Regions from separate parts of the Homo sapiens genome. Here regions 2, 3, 4, 5, 6 and 7 are each linked to region 1. The links are contacts of gene promoters, found by promoter capture Hi-C in blood cells and fetal thymus (Javierre and others, 2016). All regions are on one chromosome and are shown on one strand. The core of a region is centred on a gene start or on the middle of the fragment in contact, and the rest is flanking DNA. Distances in the headings are between cores, read along the strand shown.

Evidence for each region. The method cuts DNA at HindIII sites, captures the fragments that hold promoters and counts their contacts. A CHiCAGO score of 5 or more calls a contact.
Region 2: a fragment that was not itself captured here is called in contact with the fragment with the promoter of COG5 in region 1 in 1 of 17 cell types (fetal thymus); the score reaches 5.3 in fetal thymus.
Region 3: a contact is called between a fragment that was not itself captured here and the fragment with the promoter of COG5 in region 1, in 3 of 17 cell types (megakaryocytes, M2 macrophages and M1 macrophages). The highest score is 8.3, in megakaryocytes.
Region 4: a contact is called between a fragment that was not itself captured here and the fragment with the promoter of COG5 in region 1, in 1 of 17 cell types (total CD4 T cells). The highest score is 5.5, in total CD4 T cells.
Region 5: a contact is called between a fragment that was not itself captured here and the fragment with the promoter of COG5 in region 1, in 1 of 17 cell types (M1 macrophages). The highest score is 5.2, in M1 macrophages.
Region 6: a contact is called between a fragment that was not itself captured here and the fragment with the promoter of COG5 in region 1, in 10 of 17 cell types (non-activated CD4 T cells, erythroblasts, naive CD8 T cells and 7 more). The highest score is 12.4, in non-activated CD4 T cells.
Region 7: a fragment that was not itself captured here is called in contact with the fragment with the promoter of COG5 in region 1 in 2 of 17 cell types (non-activated CD4 T cells and total CD8 T cells); the score reaches 6.6 in non-activated CD4 T cells.

Annotation. Positions count from the first base shown.
Region 1 is chr7:107,562,424-107,565,259 of GRCh38, reverse strand. COG5 (component of oligomeric golgi complex 5) reads left to right here and starts at 1,340. Exons shown (of 22, transcript NM_006348.5): 1 at 1,340-1,457. The coding sequence starts at 1,364. DUS4L-BCAP29 (DUS4L-BCAP29 readthrough) reads right to left here and starts at 1,289. Exons shown (of 13, transcript NR_163941.2): 1 at 1,051-1,289; 2 at 584-672. It overlaps DUS4L (dihydrouridine synthase 4 like), which reads right to left and starts at 1,289. Exons shown (of 8, transcript NM_181581.3): 1 at 1,051-1,289; 2 at 584-672. RefSeq lists enhancers at 1-762, 1,293-1,412 and silencers at 1,113-1,212, 1,251-1,461. The HindIII fragment of the contact is 2,647 bases long and covers 461-2,836 here.
Region 2 is chr7:107,179,131-107,181,966 of GRCh38, reverse strand. It overlaps HBP1 (HMG-box transcription factor 1), which reads right to left. Exons shown (of 11, transcript NM_012257.4): 2 at 1,905-2,088. The coding sequence starts at 2,073. Among named protein-coding and RNA genes, the nearest start is that of HBP1, 12 kb to the right of the region's middle. The HindIII fragment of the contact is 5,152 bases long and covers 1-2,836 here.
Region 3 is chr7:107,198,169-107,201,004 of GRCh38, reverse strand. It overlaps HBP1 (HMG-box transcription factor 1), which reads right to left. Exons shown (of 11, transcript NM_012257.4): 10 at 704-845. Among named protein-coding and RNA genes, the nearest start is that of HBP1, 31 kb to the right of the region's middle. The HindIII fragment of the contact is 8,021 bases long and covers 1-2,836 here.
Region 4 is chr7:107,927,309-107,930,144 of GRCh38, reverse strand. It overlaps LAMB1 (laminin subunit beta 1), which reads left to right. Exons shown (of 34, transcript NM_002291.3): 30 at 526-733; 31 at 940-1,081. Among named protein-coding and RNA genes, the nearest start is that of DLD, 38 kb to the right of the region's middle. The HindIII fragment of the contact is 2,992 bases long and covers 1-2,836 here.
Region 5 is chr7:107,226,346-107,229,181 of GRCh38, reverse strand. The region is part of intron 19 of COG5 (component of oligomeric golgi complex 5); the gene reads left to right. LOC124901721 (a long non-coding RNA gene) reads right to left here. Exons shown (of 3, transcript XR_007060472.1): 2 at 2,737-2,836. Among named protein-coding and RNA genes, the nearest start is that of HBP1, 59 kb to the right of the region's middle. The HindIII fragment of the contact is 2,347 bases long and covers 285-2,631 here.
Region 6 is chr7:107,873,185-107,876,020 of GRCh38, reverse strand. LOC105375445 (a long non-coding RNA gene) reads left to right here and starts at 1,786. Exons shown (of 3, transcript XR_927851.2): 1 at 1,786-1,900. The HindIII fragment of the contact is 5,783 bases long and covers 1-2,836 here.
Region 7 is chr7:107,857,032-107,859,867 of GRCh38, reverse strand. It overlaps LOC105375444 (a long non-coding RNA gene), which reads left to right. Exons shown (of 3, transcript XR_927850.3): 3 at 2,752-2,836. Among named protein-coding and RNA genes, the nearest start is that of DLD, 33 kb to the left of the region's middle. The HindIII fragment of the contact is 3,556 bases long and covers 1-2,836 here.

The DNA of each region.
Region 1 (2,836 bases), core at 91-2,590:
TATGGATTGAGTCTTATGTTTGTAAACTCATGAGAGCATGCAGAGTAGAGGGGTCAAAACTTTCGCTGTATGAATGAATATTACTCACTCTTCTAAAATCTTCCACTGGGGGGAATAAAGCCAAGGAAGGAAAAACAATTCCTAATTCACAAGTAATGAATGAATCACCCCTATTCCCATCATGACTAAGATCTTACATACTAGGGAAAATCCTCTGAGACAAAGAGAGCATAATGCAGTGTAGCATAAGACTTGCTTACCTGAGGTGTTATGAGTATGAAATGCATTGAGTTATAAAATACTTAGAACAGCGATAAGCACAGGATAAGTAATAGCACCTTTTTGAAACAGAATGTAGAAAACCACGTAGCTCTGGAACTGGATAAAATTGGTTTCCTGGATACATACCTACTGTACAAAATGAAAAAGTCATCTTCCAGCTTCTTTTTGCGAAGAAGCTTAAGACTGTCTTGCATACTTGTGGTTGCCTGACCCTGTTAATTTATCAGTATTTATCTTAGAAGAAAGAAATCTAGGTCAAAAACGCGAACGTATTAGTAAAGAAGATACAATGGGAACCAACCTGATGCTCTTACAGCGTCAATACTGTTAGTTGAGATGTGGACCATCTATCAGTTTGTAATTAAGAAAAAGTCTGGCACGTGACTGAAACTGAGGAAGAAGTAGAAAAGGCAAAAGGTCAAAGGTCTCATGGGAAGGAAGGAGGGTAGAGACAGTGAGTTTTATTGGTCCTTTTATGGTTCAGACTTCCTTCTTCATCGACTCTCCCTAATTCTCTTCACTGTTCATCCCCAGCAACTTTTCTTCCCAAGCATTTCCTGCGGGCTTTTATTACCCCAGGAGTGCCAATCAAGGCGTGGAACAGATAAAGCTGTGTAGCAACTAACGCGTGACTCTTGTGAGTGTGGAGGGCAAACGAAGCTCCCTGAAACCTCCGCTCTGCTCTCCTGCCTTACGCCGCGCGGCCCCTGTTCTGAGGTTTAATACTTGCTTCACAGATAAGCGCTGCGGCCACGTTCCGGTGCCCACCTTCTCCTTGGCTAGGGCACGACGCCAGCCCAGGGGGCGCGGCCCTGAGCTGCTGCGAGAGACAGCTGAAAGCGCCGGCCCGACGGCCTTGGCTCCCTCGGTGCGCTGGGCGCAGAGCACTCGGACCCTGGGCGCCCACTGCTCGAGTACCTGCGCGGCTCCTAGCCAGGCTTAGCCCAGGCGCGGGCTGAGAGTCAGTTCGCCAGGTGGGCCTGGAGCCATGGGCTGGGTGGGCGGGCGGCGCCGGGATTCTGCGTCACCACCTGGGCGGAGCCGTTCTGCTGCTGACGACATCAACCCGGCACCTGCCAACATGGAAGGTGGCGGCGGCAGCGTCGCTGTAGCTGGCCTCGGAGCTCGAGGCTCTGGAGCGGCTGCAGCTACAGTCCGGGAACTTCTGCAGGACGGTAAGGAGACGGGGTCTGACCAGGTCGTGGGGTTGGGGGTCTGCGCTGCTCCGCACCTGGACAGCGAGGTGGACCCAACCCGTTGCTTTGCAGAAAGTTTTCCAGTCTGGACGTGACCACTCCCCTCCGCCCGGCCCCCTGGCTTGGGTACTGTTCTAGCCAACCTATTTACTCTGGGACTGGCTCCCTCTTTTCTGGAGTCTTGGGGACACTTGGTTTCTGTGTGTTCCTCATTTCAACTCGACCCCCCCCCCCCCCATGCCTCCAGCTTCCCTGAAGTTTCGGGAGCCCAAACCCTGTGGACCGCGTTGGCAGCCACCGGCTGCTGCCGCAGTTCTTGACGAAGGGGTGTAGCGTTCGAGCTCTTCAAAAGTGTAAGCTCTAGAACAGACGGCAGACGCATAATGAAATAGGGCCTTGTTTTAAAGTAGAGCTGGAAACGCTTACTCCTTTAACAAATGGACTGTACAGGTGACCCCTCTTACAGGCTGGTTTTTTTTTTCCTCCTTTATGAGGCAGTTATCTACAGTGACACGTGGGGGAGGGTTTGAGACATTTGTTCAGGTTGGGATTAACCATTTGTACAGAATCTAGCAGTCAGATTTTATTGCTAGTCAGTTTGGAGAGAAGTTGCCCAAAATAAGAAAAGTTAGATATAATATACTTGAAAAGCATATTCAGTTGTGTCAATCCAGTTACCATGTCCCGAATCTCTTATCCTTCAGAATAAAGTTCACATTTATAAGCATAAAAATAAAGCCCTTCTCACCTGTTCTTAATTTTTTCTCTAGTGGCCATCGCATTCTACCTTGTACTAAAATCATTTGTATACTTGTTTTAATCTCTTCTGTATTGCAAACTTTTTTTAATATCCCACAGTGTGAATAGCAGTATCTTGCATACAGTAGGTGCAGAATGTTTTTTAAATTCATCATCGCAGTTAGAAGCACATGCACACATTTGAAGACCGAAGTGGGTAATAAATGAAATAAAGTTCCAAATTATTGTTTATTTTCTCTGACTGTTAAATATTTTATTGTCATCCTGAATTACGTGCCTTTTCATGATAATTTATGTACTTTTGTCAAAAGCAATGATGTTTTCTGAACTATTTCATGTTGGAAACTCTAGGACCGGGTCTCTGTCTAAAACTTGGCTAAACTGAATTTAAACTTTAGATACAAGGCAGAGACCCTGATATATTTGCAGTTGCTCCTGATACACGTGCAATTTTTGCCCTCAAGTAGTTCACCATCTAGTAGAGGAAATAATCTTGTAGACTATAAAGGTAGGTGCTGTAATATAGTGATGTAAGATAGCAGTAGGATTGCATATAAAGTAGAGCATTAATACAGAGGAGAATGATAACTGGGGGTTGG
Region 2 (2,836 bases), core at 137-2,636, 380 kb after region 1:
GTATTTCTTTTTACTAATAAATTCTGAACTTGTTAATATTTACTGGTTATTTATCGGTTATTTTTTCCTATAAGTGCATTCCTAAAAGGCAATTCATGATACCCTTTCAGCTCCCCATAAGATGACTGGAACTATTACCCAGCTACCACTCATGCACACACCAAGCACTATAAGGAACATGAATTCCAAAATACTGAATTCTTAAAAAAAATTATATATATATTCTTTTAAAAAATCATATATATGTCTGTATGTATGTGTGTATGTAGTAGGGAAGAAAAAGCATCTTGAAGGCTTAAAAAAAAAAACTCTCCACGAAACACATACCTACAAACTCCACAAACCTATTGGGTCCCTTAAATATACAAGTCAAGAAAATTTCTAGTCTCCTAAATGTCACTATAAAAGTATGTATAACTCCTATTCAGGCAAATATTCCAGAATAGTCTACTAAAACCGAAATGTCCTATCTTAAAAAAAAAAAAATTTTTTTTTGAGATAGGGTCTTACTCTGTTGCCCAGGCTGGAGTGCAGTGGTACAATTATAGCTCACTGCAGCCTTGGACCCCTGGGCTCAAATGATCCTCACGCCTCTGCCTCTCAAGTAGCTAGGACTACAGGCATGTACCCACCATGCCCAGCTAATTTTTAAAGAAAATTTTTGTAGAGATGATATCTCACTACGTTGACCAGGCTGGTCCTGAACTCCTCCCACCTTGTCCTCCCAAAGTGCTGCGATTACTAGCGTGAACCATCATGCCAAGCCAAACTGAAATGTTTTAATTAGAAGCACTGACTCGGGATATCCATTTGTAAAAACTGACTTCTTTCATGGAGTCATGAAGGAGCCAAGGAGTTCTAGAACATCACACTAATTTAAAATAATTCTACCCTACAATTTTCATGCTGATATAGCTATTTCCTTTCCCTCACTGCCTTTGACCAACATTTATTTACTGCAAAGGGTTCATTTCTGTTTCTGAAGTTCAGGAAATTACTTTTTAAACGAAGTCATAGGTGGAAGGGGCATGTTATTTATACTCCCCTCGGCCCTAAGTTTCTGAGTTCCTCCTTAAACCAAAAACTGAGGAAGATCAACTACCTGATTAAAATGGCACTCCTTGCTCAAAAGTAACCAGTACTCAATAAATACTAGGGTCCAGAAAATCCTTGGCATTCAAGCAGGTTATGTGTCCCAAGAGCTTAAGATCTCTAAATTTCCAAACATTACCATAGTACATAATCTCCTCCATTTCATCATTTGTAAAATTAAGACAGCTGTATCTTCTCCCCAGGGTTTTTATAAACATGAAGGAAACCCCCATATATTAAATGGGGGCAAAGCCAAGCTGAAAAGCTGGGCAGCAAGCCAAGGTGACTCATTAGCTCCATACTCCTGAACACCAGCCTTGAAGCAATACAATTCAAAAACACACCTCAACAAACTTACACATTTCTAAAGGTCACATATCTCCAGGAGTAGTTTAGCAATAGTAACAACCATAAATGTCAGATCCTCAAGTTTCAAGGGTCCACTGTAATTTCCACATCATACCAGCAAATCTGCCACGAAGAGTGGCTAAGCATATTTTACTGAGCTCTCTCAAGTATATTTCAAAAGTAGCATCTTTCGAAAAGCCACGAGTGGGGTCCAATCTTTACACACAAAGTAAAGTAGTTTAATTTAACAATCTGTAAATGAGTGTCTACAATAACCATAAATAGCCCAACTCATGTTGGTTTTAAGTAGTATTTTAAAAGCAATAAAAGAATGCTGAAAATTCCTAATATACAAATACTTCATATCCCTTTCTAGCCAGTCAAGGTTGGTGGAGAAGCGGGCTAAGTAGAAAAATTTATCTGAATCTTAGTGAGATTTCTATATAACTTTTAATTTTGCTTACCAAGCTCCATGTGTTCATCACAGGAGTTATATCCAGGTGAAGATGGCAAATTCTCATTACACTGCAGCAACTCCAATGAGTCATTCATTCCTGAGGCTCTCTTGTCCATCACCAACAGGAGTTTCTGTACTGCATTAGGCATCTGATTTGTCTTCACTTCCCACACCATGTTATGGTGCTCTGACTTAAAATAAAAACGACATTAAGAAATGATGTCAAGCCATGCAATTTGGGCAGTACACAAACCTAAAATAAATCAGAGACATGACAATGTTGTTTTGTTTTTTTTTTGAGACATAGTCACACTCTGTCACCCAGACTGCAGTGCAGTGGCGTGATCTCGGCTCACTGCAAACTCCACCTCCTGGGTTCAAGCGATTCTCCCGCCTCAGCCACCTAAGTAGGGGGGATTACAGGCACATGCCACCACGCCGAGCTAATTTTTGTATTTTTAGTAGAGATGGGGTTTCGTCATGTTGGCCAGGCTGGTCTTGAACTCCTGACCTCAAGATATCCGCCCACCTGGGCCTCCCAGAGTGCTGGGATTACAGGCGTGAGCCACCACGCCCGGCCACAGTGTTAGATTTTAACTTAATCATACACTGCCATTTATAGCTCCCTCAAATCCTTTAGACCCGGATGACTCCTTAACATCTTGGCCTACAACTGAATACTCAGCACTAAATCACATTTCAATCCCAAAAGATTAATATCTTGAATTATAAAAAAAAGTCTTTTCTGCTGAGGAAAAATGGCATTGTATATACTTTTATTTAACCTAGTAACCGTCCTTTCAGATGCAAAAACTGAGACTAATAGGACTCTTTTTTTCACTTGTACCTTCAAATTCAAAAGGAAATTTAAAAACTTTCCTTAATAAAAGTTAAAAAAAACTGGAAGAATATTCTATTTTGTCCTTTTTTAAAGATTCT
Region 3 (2,836 bases), core at 152-2,651, 360 kb after region 1:
CCCTCCTACTATAAAAATATTGATATCTTCCCTTCATCTTTCAATGATACTTCAAATTGACCCCACTATATCACATGTAATTTTTTTGCAATTAATCTAAAAACGCTGAACCTAAAAGATGCTAGTTTAGTAATGGAAAAGTTATAAGAAACAAGTCTATCCAAGATAGCTTATCATATAGACTTGTTTGCCACCATTCCTGGGCCTATTTCTTCTCCTCCTTGAAATTTTTCAATCTAGAAATTCTGTGCCAATGGCACAAGTCCCCATGAATGACAGCTAACATACCCCAACACCTCCAGCCTTATTGGTCCCTCACCAATTAAGGAAAAAAAGCTGTTGAGACAATCCCAAAATTATTAGAGAAATTTTCTACTGTGATATTAATGGATTAATAATGCTTATCTTTCAACCCAACTAGAAACACTGCATTCCAAAATTATTTTTCCAACTCAATGTTTAGAACAAACATTCTTTTGAAGTTTGCCTGAGATTTCGACTTGCCATGCTATGAGAGTAAATGACCCTTGAGGAAAGGCAGTCTTTATATGATGATGTGATAACATTATTAGGTTTTGAAGTATAAAAATGCTAGAGACAGCATCAACACAACCTCTTAAAGGTTGTAACAACTGCTCCAACATGCCAGTACACCTGCACGGATAAGGCAAGATAATTTTAAACACTATTTATTGAAACATACTGAATTGGTTCTTTTCCTCTTCCAACAGTCAGGATTTAAACGTTTCTGTTCTTCAGCCAAAGCCTTTGCTTCTAATGTGTACATTCTTCTCTCTTCATTCTTCATTTTCTTCCACCTGTCACCAAGGATCACACTTATGGCTCTGTAAAATAAATATTTACACAATGCTGAAAGCACACATTTTTCATAAATCTCATGTCAAGTGCTGCTACTTCAGGAGAAAAATGTGAAGTTAAAAAAGATGAAAATCTTGTCTATCACAGAGATGGGAAAAGGTCAAGGCCATAATGCTCATTTCCAGTAAAATCCCGAATCAAATAATCCATTGTTCCGTATCAGCAGCATGAAGTATTCAACTTGTACTAAAAGCTAATCTATTTGTGCCCGTAACCTATCAAATAGTTTTGATAAAGGTCTTTTCTCATTCAATCATAGTGGAAGTGTAGAATTAACTATGCATATCTTACTATTTCTCTCTCAAGAGAAAACCAAATAAACCTTTAGACAGTATTTTTTATTACTTGAGAAAACTGGATAAACTCAAAATGCTAAGAAGTTAAACTGATAAGACTACATCATGACAAATATTAGAAGCTGTTTTCTCCTGTTTGTTACTCTGCTATGAAACCTACTAAAACAGTCTCACCTAGGCACACAGATGTAAACCACCTTCCTTCTATGAAGAGCTTTCAGCCATTCACTTCATGACACCCATATAAAACATAAGGTCCTGGAAATTTTGCACAAAGCACATCAAGTGATTTTTATACTGACTGATATGGAAGCCAAAGCAACAGGCATTTGTGCCTTCGAACAGTAAACCACAGAAGCTCTCCTACAAGTGTATTTGTCTTTTTATCCAATAACTTAATGCAGTTAAACATTGTGCTGCATTTTCCTTAATTATAAACCAATTTTTGGGCTGGACGTTGTGACTCATGCCTGTAATCCCAGCACTTTTGGAGGCCAAGGCGGGCAGATCACTTGAGGCCACGAGTTCAAGACCAGCCTGGCCGACATGGTGAAACCCCGTCACCCCATCTCTACTATTTGCCAGGTGTGATGGCACACGCCTGTAATCACAGCTACTGGGGAGGCTGAGGCACTAGAATCGCCTGAACCCGGGAGGCAGAGGTTGCAGTGAGCCGATATCCCGCCACTGCACTCCAGCCTGGGGAACAGAATGAGACTCTGTCTCAAAAATAAATAATAAAATGATAACCAATTTTTATATTCCATTTGCAGAACCCATTAAAAAAAAAACTTTTAGTCTTGGGTTACAGGTACCATATAATGGTTGACACATTTAAACAAATCAATAAATATTCACACCATCTCAGTCATCCACAGTAGGAAAGAACATGAGATGTTTTTGAAGGGGGTGGCACTTGCGAAACATTTATTATTTTAAGCTAAAAGATGACAGGTAATGAAATGTACACAATGCTGTAGACTATACTCTGTGTTCCCTAACAAATGTAAAATATACACATCTAAAGATTATTTCTGCAGTGAATGTTACATCCAGATGGACATTTATAGCAACTTAAAATGAGCTACATGTCTCTGACCTGTTCTAGTCTCCATTCCCTCAGAATTTGCCTCCAAATGAGAATTTATTCATTGAATTAAGGCAGCTTTATTAGAGACAGTGAAGAATCCAATTTCAAAATTATGATTTATCCCATTCAGTTTAGAGATAGGTGATATCTGATGGCCCTCAATGTTAGATGATTGATTACCAGTATATCACATGGGAGCAATGCTAAAATGCAAAGAAAATACCAGATTTGGCTGGGCACGGTGGCTCACATATGTAATCCCAGCACTTTGGGAGGCAGAGGTGGGCAGATCACCTGAGATCAGGAGTTCGAGACCAGCCTAGCCAACAAGGTGAAACCCCATCTCTACTAAAACTACAAAAAATTAGCCAGGTGTGGTGGTGCATGCCTATAGTTCAAGCTGCTCAGAGGCTGAGGCAGGAGAATCACTTCAACCTAGGAGGCAGCAGTTGCAATGAGCCGAGATCACACCACTGGCACTACAGCCTGCGTGACAGAGCAAGATTCCATCTCATAAAAAAAAAAAAGATTTTTGAGCAATAAAGGGTATAACCTGATTTAGAGATCCTAT
Region 4 (2,836 bases), core at 127-2,626, 360 kb before region 1:
TCCTGAATCTAGATCATTTGTAGGAAATATCAAATCTCCATATCTGCATTCACAAGTTTCTGAGCTATTCGTCCAACCTCAATTAAAAGATTTCATTGCCTTTAAGTCTCAGCTTTAAGCTCTGGCCCTCTATGGTTTTCCACAATGTTCAGATTCACTCTGCTATACTTTCCCGTAACATACTCTGCCGTTCCTGTCTCCCCATCTGGAATTGTCCTTTCTTCTTTCAAATTCTATTATCCCTTAAAATCTGATCAGCTCCTCATCTTCCACGAAGGTTTCCCTCACTACCCAGCCTAAAACAAATTCTAGTAGTACTCAATTGTCTGCAGTTACTTTTTTGTGTGTGTAGGTCTCATCTCCCCTCAAAATCCCAGATAGATTATAAACTCTTAAACAGGAAGTTAGTGTCTCTTGGTGTGTAACCCCACCATGCTAGTCCATAGTAGATGACCAGTAAGTGGTTGAATGAATGAACCATCTATTCTTTTCACCTCTTTTTGGGGACATCTTTGCTTTTCACAGAGGATAGTGCTGATTTGGACAGCATTGAAGCAGTTGCTAATGAAGTATTGAAAATGGAGATGCCTAGCACCCCACAGCAGTTACAGAACTTGACAGAAGATATACGTGAACGAGTTGAAAGCCTTTCTCAAGTAGAGGTTATTCTTCAGCATAGTGCTGCTGACATTGCCAGAGCTGAGATGTTGTTAGAAGAAGCTAAAAGAGCAAGGTATCTAAAGACATGGCATCTAAGGGGCTTATTTTGTGTATCTATCATGGAGTAAAAAGTATCTCTTTAACCAATGAAACTTCTAAGAAGGACCTATGCGAGTCTCTCTGGGTCATTTCAGGAAGGCTATTCTTTAAAGAAAAGAACACTGAGAGTACTTTTTTCATGTTCAGCAACAATATACTGTCTCATTATTTTTTACTCAGCAAAAGTGCAACAGATGTTAAAGTCACTGCAGATATGGTAAAGGAAGCTCTGGAAGAAGCAGAAAAGGCCCAGGTCGCAGCAGAGAAGGCAATTAAACAAGCAGATGAAGACATTCAAGGAACCCAGAACCTGTTAACTTCGGTAGGCATACACAATCATTACATGAATGGGAACACACCTACATATACACTTACCAGAAAAGTACATTTGTTATCTATGAACAGAAATTCTTACAACTCAACATTAAAGGATTCCTTTAATAAATCTAAACTACTCCGTTAGCATGGATGCTAAAAATAAGTGGAGATAGGTTTTCAAGGAATAAAAGGACTCTGATTCAGACACTGGACCATTACGTCCCATCTCATTTTCTCCCCCACAAAGTCTGAGAAAGATAAAAACTTCTATTCTTGGGCGGGCATGGTGGCTCACGCCTGTAATTCCAGCATTTTGGGAGGCCGAGGTGGGTGGGTCATTTGAGGTCAGTAGTTCAAGACCAGCGTGGCCAACATGGCAAAACCCCTTCTCTACTAAAGATACAAAAGTTAGCTGGGCATAGTGGTGTGTGCCTGTAGTCCCAGCTACCTGGGAGGCTAAGGCAGGAGAATTGCTTGAACCGGGGAGGTCGAGGTTGCAATGAGCTGAGATCACACCACTGTACTCCAGTCTGGGCAACAGAGACTCCATCTCAAAAAAAAAAAAAGCACTCCTATTCATTGAGGAAACAGCATATACTCTGTTCAGTAGTATGAAGTATAATAATTTTAGAAAACTGTCCTGATGTTATAAAGCAGCTTATCTGGTTAAGAAGGCCAATGTCTCAAGATTTTGGTCATCAAACATTTTACTATATAGTAGTTTTGGAAACTATGGGAGAACAGTCAGTCTGCTTTCAATACCCAATTCTAGAGAAACCTAATAGAGCACTTATAGCTAAACAATCTGTTCTGTTTAGAATGCATGGAAAACTTAATGTTTTTTATAAGAAATATACTGTGACTACCAGATATTAAAAGTACTCATTACGAATTTTTCATAGGGATCTAGCACCTTGCTCTAAAAATCCTCTTTATCTCTTAAAAGAAGTAATGCAAACATAATTCCATTAAATTCTTTTGTTTCTCAGAAAGTTAATGTTTTCGTTCCAATTTTACGAGTTTTTAAAAAATGAAGAAAATTGATGAGTTATCTAATCCCTATACAGGTTCTCAGAATATACTTTGAAATTAAATGCTCCCATACCCAGCATTGTCAGCCTTCTCAGGCCAATCCTCCATGTGTTTAAAACCTGGGAAGATGAATTTTCAACATGCTTTTCTTACCATTAGTTGGTAAAAACCTGTGTTCCCCTATTCTATTGCTGTCAGTTAAATGAAGGCCAATAATTCTGTCCATTTTCCTCCTTAAATTTCGAGTATCAATAAGACTTTTTCTTCAGGCTATTTGTTCAAGTTTAGAAAAATTATGTTTTCCCACCAGACTATAAATATTTTGATGTTTCGATCTCTAGGTTTTTCCATTTTCTCAGTTTGCTGTTAATATTTTAGTGAATATTATGTCAGTGACTGTAGAAATTATTGTTTTGAAAGCCAGGTGCAGCAGTGTGTGCCTGTAGTCCCAGCCACTTGGGAGGTGGAGGTGAGAGGATCACTTAAGGCCAAGAGTTTGAGACTATAGTGCACTATGATCATGCCTGTAAACAAACAGTCACTGCACTCCAGCCTGGGAAATATAGCAAGACCCTGTTTCTTGAAAAAAATTGTTCTGAAAAGCAAATTAGAAAATACTGAATTATAGGTGAGATGTGGCTTGATGATGCAAGTTAATAATTGGGGTTCTGTTTTTCAGGGGCCCTAGGGGGCAGGAAGTGTTTTAGGTTAGTAACAATAAGAAACA
Region 5 (2,836 bases), core at 209-2,708, 340 kb after region 1:
ACTGCGCCTAGCCGAAGAAGATATTTTCATTTAAAAAGGTGGCCAACCCTAAGGGCTGAGGGGATCAACATAATATTTTGTGACCACAGCATACCAGATGGGAGGCCTTTATATAAACTGTCCATAATATCCAAGTGCATAATGGTTGAAGATTTCTCAATAAGGATAAGATAACAGAGTACAGGTATGCAGCTTTCTAAAAACCAACTCAGTACTGGAAACTAGAGGATCAATAAGCAGTATGTCCTTTAAATGATCGCTTTGCTCTCTTCTGTCATCAAGCTTTGGTAGTAGAAACTTCTGGTGGAATATAAGAAATATAAGAATCCAATATTGTTGATTGAGAGGGAATCCGTATATTTTACCTCGCCTGTTTGTAATTAGCACAGGCCTTTTTTTTTTTTTAATGGCAACACAAGAGTCTGGATTTTATTTTTTCTCAAATGAAAGATCACTGCCCATCTGTACAGAGATGAGTTTTAGGAAAACTTAAAGTGAGATCACAAATGCTTTCAGATACCTTCTTTGTATCAGCTCAAATCTTTTTAAAACTGTTTAAGTATTTTGTTGAAGCTATAGAGTTCTGCACTACCAAACATGGGCGAGTTGAAGGATGATGAGGTCCTGAGGTTGCCAATCCATTGGTCATCTGTTTGTACCATAAAAGTTACTTTACTAAAACCCCTGTACAGTCATTTACTCTTGAGTAAGATGGTAACACAGCAATCCTAGCTGGGTAATAAAATGTTGCCCTGGCTGGCTGAGTCAGTTAACATACTGGAGGATATTAACCATCTAGTTATTGAAAAAGGTATGAGAAAAGCTGTGATTTAGCATTGCTATAGGAAGATTTGGCTTTTTTTTTTTTTTTTTTTGAGACCGGGTGTCACTCTGTCACCCAGGTTAGAGTGCAGTGGTGCGATCTCCATCTCAGCTTACTGCAACCTCCACCTTGCATGCCCAAGTGATCCTCCCGCCTCAGCCTCCTGAGTAACTGGGACTACAGGTGTGTGCCACCATGCCCAGCTAATTTTTATATTTTTTTGTAGAAACAAAGTTTCACCATGTTGCCCAGCCTGGTCTTGAATTTCTGAGCTCAAGCTATCTGCCCGCCTCAGCCCCCCAGACTGCTGGGATTACAAGTATGGCAGGTGTAAGCCACCACACCTGGCCTAGGCTATTATTTTTTATAGCCCCAGTCCCATGTTTAGTTGTTTATTGCATTATTGCACGTGCATGTATAAAATAATGCTAATTCAGCCTGGCCAACATGGTGAAACCCCATCTCTACCAAAAAGTACAAAAATTAGCCAGGCATGGCAGCACACATCTGTAGTCCCAGCTACTTGGAAGGCTGAGGTGGGAGAATCACTTTAACCCGGGAGCTGGAGGTTACAGTGAGTCGAGATTGTGCCACTGCACTGCAGCCTTGGTGACAGACTGAGACCCTTTACCGCCCACCACCCACACCCCCCGCCCCAAAAAAAAATAGTGCTAAGTTTCCTGTTTGCTGAGGCAGGATGACCTTCATGTAAGCACTCTTAAAGTTGTGTCATAGTATGGAGATACAAGGTCTGAGGATAAGTTTCACTTAAGACATCTATTTTAAGCCATTTAAGATGGAAATTTTCTGCCAACCCTTTCCAATTCTCACATGAGAGAAAGAATCTCTAAAGGAACATTTAAAGTTTGGGTGACACCTTCTAATACCTATTTATAGAATCAAGAATCGCTTGATCAATGTATAATTTTAATAGTTCTACTTTTTTTTTTATATCTAGCTTCTTATGGCGTAACAGTTTTCAAACTTTTGACCATGACCCACAGTAAAAGATACTTTCTATTGATATTTGGCATATACTTGTATGCAAACACATGAACACACTCAAATCTATATACATATACATGGACACCCATATGTATGGTTCATGAAATAGTAAGTACCCTTACTTCATGTGATAACCTCTAACATTTCTATTTCATTTGATTATTTTAACCCACTAAATTAGTTTAATGACCCACTCATGGCCTGCATCCAGCCATTTCTCAGATTTCTCACGAGGCCCTTAACTCTTGAACTTTAGTTGCTCTAGTGACAGGGAGCCAAGTTTTTTCCTTTCCACAAACTGTGAAGATTTATACCCTTTTCTCTTGGGATTCTGGTATCTCTGAGGTTCCTCCTGCAGATGACGTCTTAGCTCCCAAGGCCTCAGGCACATAAGAATAATTGTTTCTTGCCTATGGAGTATCCTTCATAGCTTGAGTTAATTGAAAAATTCCAACAGAGGTATTTTTCTATATACCATTATATTTCTATATTTATATTGAATCTACAGAAATCTACTGAATTAATCCTAGTGCTTTCTCAGTTGTTTGATGGGACTGATACAACTATTTTATAAAAAGCGTAGGATTAGGATTAACTGGATCAAGAAATAAAACAGAAGTATAATATATTAAGGGGTTCAAATCCAGCCCTGGTCTACAAAGAATGTTTTCAGTCCTATCAGATGAGAAGAAGAGAGATGTGAGCATGTGCTGCGGCCTCTGCCCCGCACCATTGTTGGGAAAGCCCTGGCCCTGCCAGCTTCTTTGCAGTTGTCATGTAAAGAGAATTGACTTGAGAAAGCTTACCCATGTGGCGGGTCCTACCAAATTCCTTCCTAGAGAGGAGTAAATCAGTACAGAGCCATCTTTATTCTAATAACCTAATTATAGGCCCTCTGTTTTACCTACCTGCAAAATCTTGTTAGAGATCTGTCTCTTCTTTAAAATGAGTCCTGAGCAGTTGCAGTGAAAAGCTTACTCTTATTAATATGTGCACTTCTTCCATCTG
Region 6 (2,836 bases), core at 204-2,703, 310 kb before region 1:
GTATGTCCAGCATTATACATGCTGCTGTGAAGAATATAAAAACATATTGTTCTTTTTTTTTTTAATTTTTTTTTTTTTTTTTTCTGAGATGGAGTCTTGCTCTGTCACCCAGGCTGGAGTGCAGTGATATAATCTCGGCTCACTGCAACTTCCGCCTCCTGGGTTTAAGCAATTTCCTGCCTCAGCCTCCCAAGTAGCTGGGACTACAGGCAGGCACGCACCACAGCACCCGGCTAATTTTTGTATTTTTGGTAGAGACGGGATTTCACTATGATGGCCAGGCTGGTCTTGAACTCCTGACCTCAGGTGATCCGCCCTCCTCGGCCTCCCAAAGTACTGGGATTACAGGCGTGAGCCATTGCGCCTGGCAATTTTGTTTGTTTGCTTAAATTTTATGGAAAATTTCAAACATACACAAAACAAAGTAGCATAATAAACCTTCATAAATCCTTCACTGAGTTTAAACCATGATCAGATTATAGCCAATATTGCTTTACTGCTCACTTCCCTTCCATTTTATTTTGAGACAAATCCCAGTAGTCATATAATTTCACCTATAACTAGTTCAGTGTGTATCTGTAAAGGATAAGGATTTTTTTAATATAAGGATTTAAAAAAAACAAAATAAAATTTAATTCCATAATGTTATCAAATTTCCAGTCACTGTTCAAATTTCCATTAAGACTTGTTATTCTTCTTAACAATAACATTGACAGCGTTCTTTATATACATCAGGCACTGTGCCAAATAATTTATAAACACTATGCAATTTAATCTTCACAATAACGCTATGAAGAAGGTAGCATTATTATCCTATATTTTATAGCTGAAGGAACTAAGGCTCAGAGATGTTAAGAAATTTTCTCTGGTCAATGCCTTCAGAAGGTGAAGAAAATCTGCAGAAACAGAAACCAAGGTCACTTACAGTGGATTGCTGACAGGATAATAGGGTTATATTTAAAGGAAATCTATCTGTTCTGTAGCTGACAACAACAACAACATTCTGTTAGACGTAGGCCTGATAATCCATAATGCACAACTATTAAGATTTTTCTGTATTCTGTAATAAATAAGAATTCTAAAGAAAAGTCATTTCAGGATGCAGTTGAGGAGGTGTCTTGCCAGAAGTATAAAGGGGCCCACAAATGACCAGCTTCATTTTTTCGGTTATGAACCTGTAATATGTGACACAACCAATAGATGGCGGCAACATGGCAGCAATATTAAACGTCTCTGATCCTATCTTGCTCTATCCAGTAACAACCCTGCTTCACTCTGGATTGCTCCAGCATATTTCAGCAGATGTCTCAGTACTCTGAGCACTCTAAAGGTAATTTTGGGAACACAGAAAAAATGAAAGTGTAGGTTAGTGTTTCTCAAAGTATGTCTCACAGGCCCTCCACCCCCCAACACATCATCAGTTGGAAGCCTTGTTAAAATGATGAGTTTTGATGACTTGGTACAAGAAATGATATAAAACATTTTAATCATCATTTATGTTGATTACATGCTGAAAGAATAACATTTTGGATATACTAGGTTAAATAGAATGTATCATTATATTTAATTTCACCTTTTTTTTCACTTTTTAAAGTGTGGCTACCAGAAAATGTAAGATTACATATGTGGCTTATATCTGTGCCTCACATTTATGGCTCCCCTTATATTTCTATTGGACATGTCTGCCCTGTAGAGATGTGACTCAAGCCTGGCCAATCAGAGCAACACATTCCCATGGCCACAGGAATCGGTTTAGGGACTTAGGACAGAATGAGAAAGAATGAAACACACCCTTGTTCCTTTGAGATGTCCATCTGAGTGGATATAGAAACTGAAGCCATTGCAACTGCCTTGCCTCCATGCGTGGTCCTATGATGGAGCAAACTCTAAGGAATTAGAGGTAATCAAGGAGAGAAATGGCATCACAGTGATACGGAGTCCTGGATGATGTTGTGCCTGTCCTTATTTCTGTTTCTGGACTCCCCAGTTATATGAGCTGATACCTTCTCCTTTTTGCTTAATCTAATTTTGGTTAGAATTTCTATTGCCTGTAACAGAAAAATGCCTAAATCAGTACATTGGCATTAGTGAATGAACTTTGTGAACCAATTTCAGTTAAAAAGAAGCCATAATTTAAGGGATTGAAAGCAGAGTGATAAGGAAATATAGGCAGAAAATGTAAACATGATGTTTGGTGGTAAAAGGAAAGATAGGCCGGGCATGGTGGCTCACGCCTGTAATCCCAGCACTTTGGGAGGCCCAGGTGGGCGGATCACAAGGTCAGGAGTTGAAGACCAGCCTGACCAACATGGTGAATCCCCATCTCTACTAAAAATACAAAAATTAGCCAGGTGTGGTAGTGCGTGCCTGTAGTCCCAGCTACTCAGGAGGCTGAGGCAGGAGAATCCCTTGAACCCAGGAGGCGGAGCTTGCGGTGAGCTGAGATTTCACCATTGCACTCCAGCCTGGGCGACAGAGTGAGACTCTGTCTCCAAAAAAAAAAAAGAGATAGCTAAGTCAGGGTCTGCTCAAAGGAGTATTGGTTCAAAGGAAGCAGATTTTCTGTTTGTTGGTTTGGGGAGATCTGTAATATCCTCATTGCCTAGTTTTCCCTGGTTTGGGGTAAAAAAGAAACAAGGAATGTCTTCTCATCACCCTCTCAAAAGTGTAGCATTAAAGTCTAGGCTTTCCTTATCTTAGAAAAGAGACTTCTTGAAGTAACCCAAGCAACAAGTGATACATTCCTGAACTACGTTCATAGAGGTGGAGGGAAGAAAAGAAATTGAAGAGGCAGTAAAGAATGCACAGTTAAAAGGCTAGTGGTTTACTAGATGTA
Region 7 (2,836 bases), core at 186-2,685, 290 kb before region 1:
GCGGTGCCATTCCTCTTTATGGCTTTTATCATAGCCAAGGCATGGTGAGGCTGGCCAGAGCTGTTCTGGGCTGCTTGCAACTAAGAAATCCTAACTGAAGTACACAAGCAACAAAGCCAAAACTCAAACCCCAGCCCGTCTAATGCCCAGCTCATACTTTTCTACTCCACCATGCTGCTCCCGGGGTTTCTGCACTCAGAATATGTGTACATGGAGATTGTTCACAAAGGGCCAATATGAGAGCGTTTCTACAAACCATTCGGTGCTTATTCCAGGGTAAGTGAAAGATCTGTCAGGCAATTAAATAAAATCCAGTTTGTTGAGGTATAACTTGCGTACACACAATTTATCCTGTTTAGCCAACCAATTCTATGATTTTTAACACGAAACTGCCATCAGAAACAAAATATAGAAGGGTTCCATCATCCAAAAAAGTTCCCTTATGTCCCTTTATAGTCAGCCCTTAACATCCCAAACCCAGTTTCTGGTAACTACTGATCTATTTTTTATCCCTATGGTTTTGTCTTTTCCAGAATGCCATGTAGGTGGAACTTTACACTATGTAGTTGAGAGTCATGCATGTGGTTCCCTAATCATTCGTTCATTTATCGGGTAAATTTTACTGAATGTTAAATTTGTTAAGTTATCAGATAGTCAATAAATATGTATTAGGCTGGGTACTGCTCCAGGTATGGGGGGACAGGAGTGGGAACAGCAGGGACCGCAAGGATCTGAGTTCCTGCCTTCAATGAGCTCATGTTCTCATATTGGGCTGGTTTGTGGGTTGGGGGAAAACAAGCAAAAAACACATAAACAGGGCTTTAAAATAATTTAGTTTTAAGTCCTGCTAAGTGCCAGACGTGGCTCTAATAGGATAATGAGAGAGTGGTAGAAATGGGCAGAGAGGCCGGGTGCAGTGGGTCACGCCTGTAATCCCAGCACTTTGGGAGGCCGAGGTGGGCAGATCACGAGGTCAGGAGATCCGGACCATCCTGGCCAACACGGTGAAACCCCGTCTCTACTGAAAACACAAAAAATTAGCTGGGCGTGGTGGCGGGCGCCTGTAGTCCCAGCTACTCCAGAGCCTGAGGCAGGAGAATCACTTGAACCCGGGAGGCAGAGGTTGCAGTGAGCCGAGATTGCACCACCGCATTCCAGCCTGGGTGACAAGCAAGACTCCATCTCAACAAAAAAAAGAAGTGGGCAGAGAGTGCTGATTTATCTAGAGTGGTTTGTTGAGTGGATGTGAATTGAGACCCAGATAATGAGAGGGGGACAGCCGTGCAAAGATCTAGGCAAGAGGCACGCAGCAGAAGGAGGAACAAGTGCAAAGGCCCAGAGCAGGGCTGAGCTTGGTGCATTCGTTCAAGAGATAGAAAGCTGAAGGGACTGGAGTGCTGAGGACCAGGAAGCAAGTTGTGGGTCACTTGGGAGAGCCATGAAGGAGCCCAATCAGGCGGGTTTGGTAGGCCAAGACTGGAGGGTAAGTTTTTCTCTAGTTGTAAGAGGAAGCCTTGGAGAGTTTTAAACCAGAGAGTTATGTAACCTGATTTACACCTGGTAAAGATACCTCTGCCTGCTGCGTGTTGTATGGACTGTGCTTGACAGGGAGGAGAGTGGGATAAGACTGGAGGCAGGAGATGGGCCTGGAGGCTTCCTCAGTGTTGAAGGGGGAGCTGACGGTGACTTGAACCAGATTGTGGCACTGCAAATGGTGAGAAGTGTTGGAACTTACTACTTTCGTGGTGTGGTGGATAAAGAAAAAGAATCCCAAAAGCAGTTACATTTTAGTATTTATTTTAAAAGCTGACTTCAAAAATCTCATTGATGCAAATCTGGAGAAATACACAAAAGTTTAAAACTCTCTATAATACAAAGTAGGTTGGTGACTAATTTGCACAATGCAAGTAAACTAGTCTTGATACTCGAGGTCAAAAAGCCTAAACTTGGGGATTAATTTAGTTTTGCTGTATACACTGACGGAAATAATCCAGTAGCCTCCATAGCCCCCACTCCACTTTGTGTTATGAGGACAGCAGGCAGTCAGCACACATGCACTGACTCATATGATACCCACATTCAAAGAGCTTTAACGTGTTGGTTGGATTCCAAAGTAAAAAGAATAGAGACTCATTGCCATGGTTGTACCTGGTCAAGGTCACACCCCAGCCACACTTCTGAGCCATTTGGCTTAGAAATGGGAAACATTATAAAGTTGAGTCAGGAATATGGCAAACCTCCAACCAGAGTAAACTATTTAAAAAATTCACATTTTCTTGTGGCCTTCAGTTTTTTCTCCTTGACATCCTCTGTTCTATCAAGACATTAAGTCCCATGGCCCATGCAAAAGACACTTGGTGCTGTGTTCTGAGATTATCATTTTGATCTACATCTGACTACCATTTTTCCAGCCAAGACCAGCCTTCCTTGTAAATAAAGATCTGTTCAGAGGATATGAAAGAATACATATTCAAGGAGTGCTCTATTCCTTTAGCTGTTCAAAGGATTTGAGGACTTTGTTTGTTTTGAAACAAGTAACCGGCTTTCTCTAACCACGTAACCTCAACCTCACAGGACAGCCAGCAGGAAGTCAGAAATGAAGAACAGCCGATGACCTGGGTGCACTCTCTGGGTGCAGCCTGCTGTTGTCCTGTCCCCACCCTTGTCCTGTTTTTCACTTGTCTTGTTGTTTTTAAGAAAAATTTTTGTCTGCTCTGAGGATCTTCTGCTGATCTCAGGTTTTTCTTTCAGGTAATACATATGACAGGTGCTGGACAGAGCTGAACTGGAACAAGGGTCTGCAGCCATTCACAGAGGGCATGTCAATCTGTGTTCA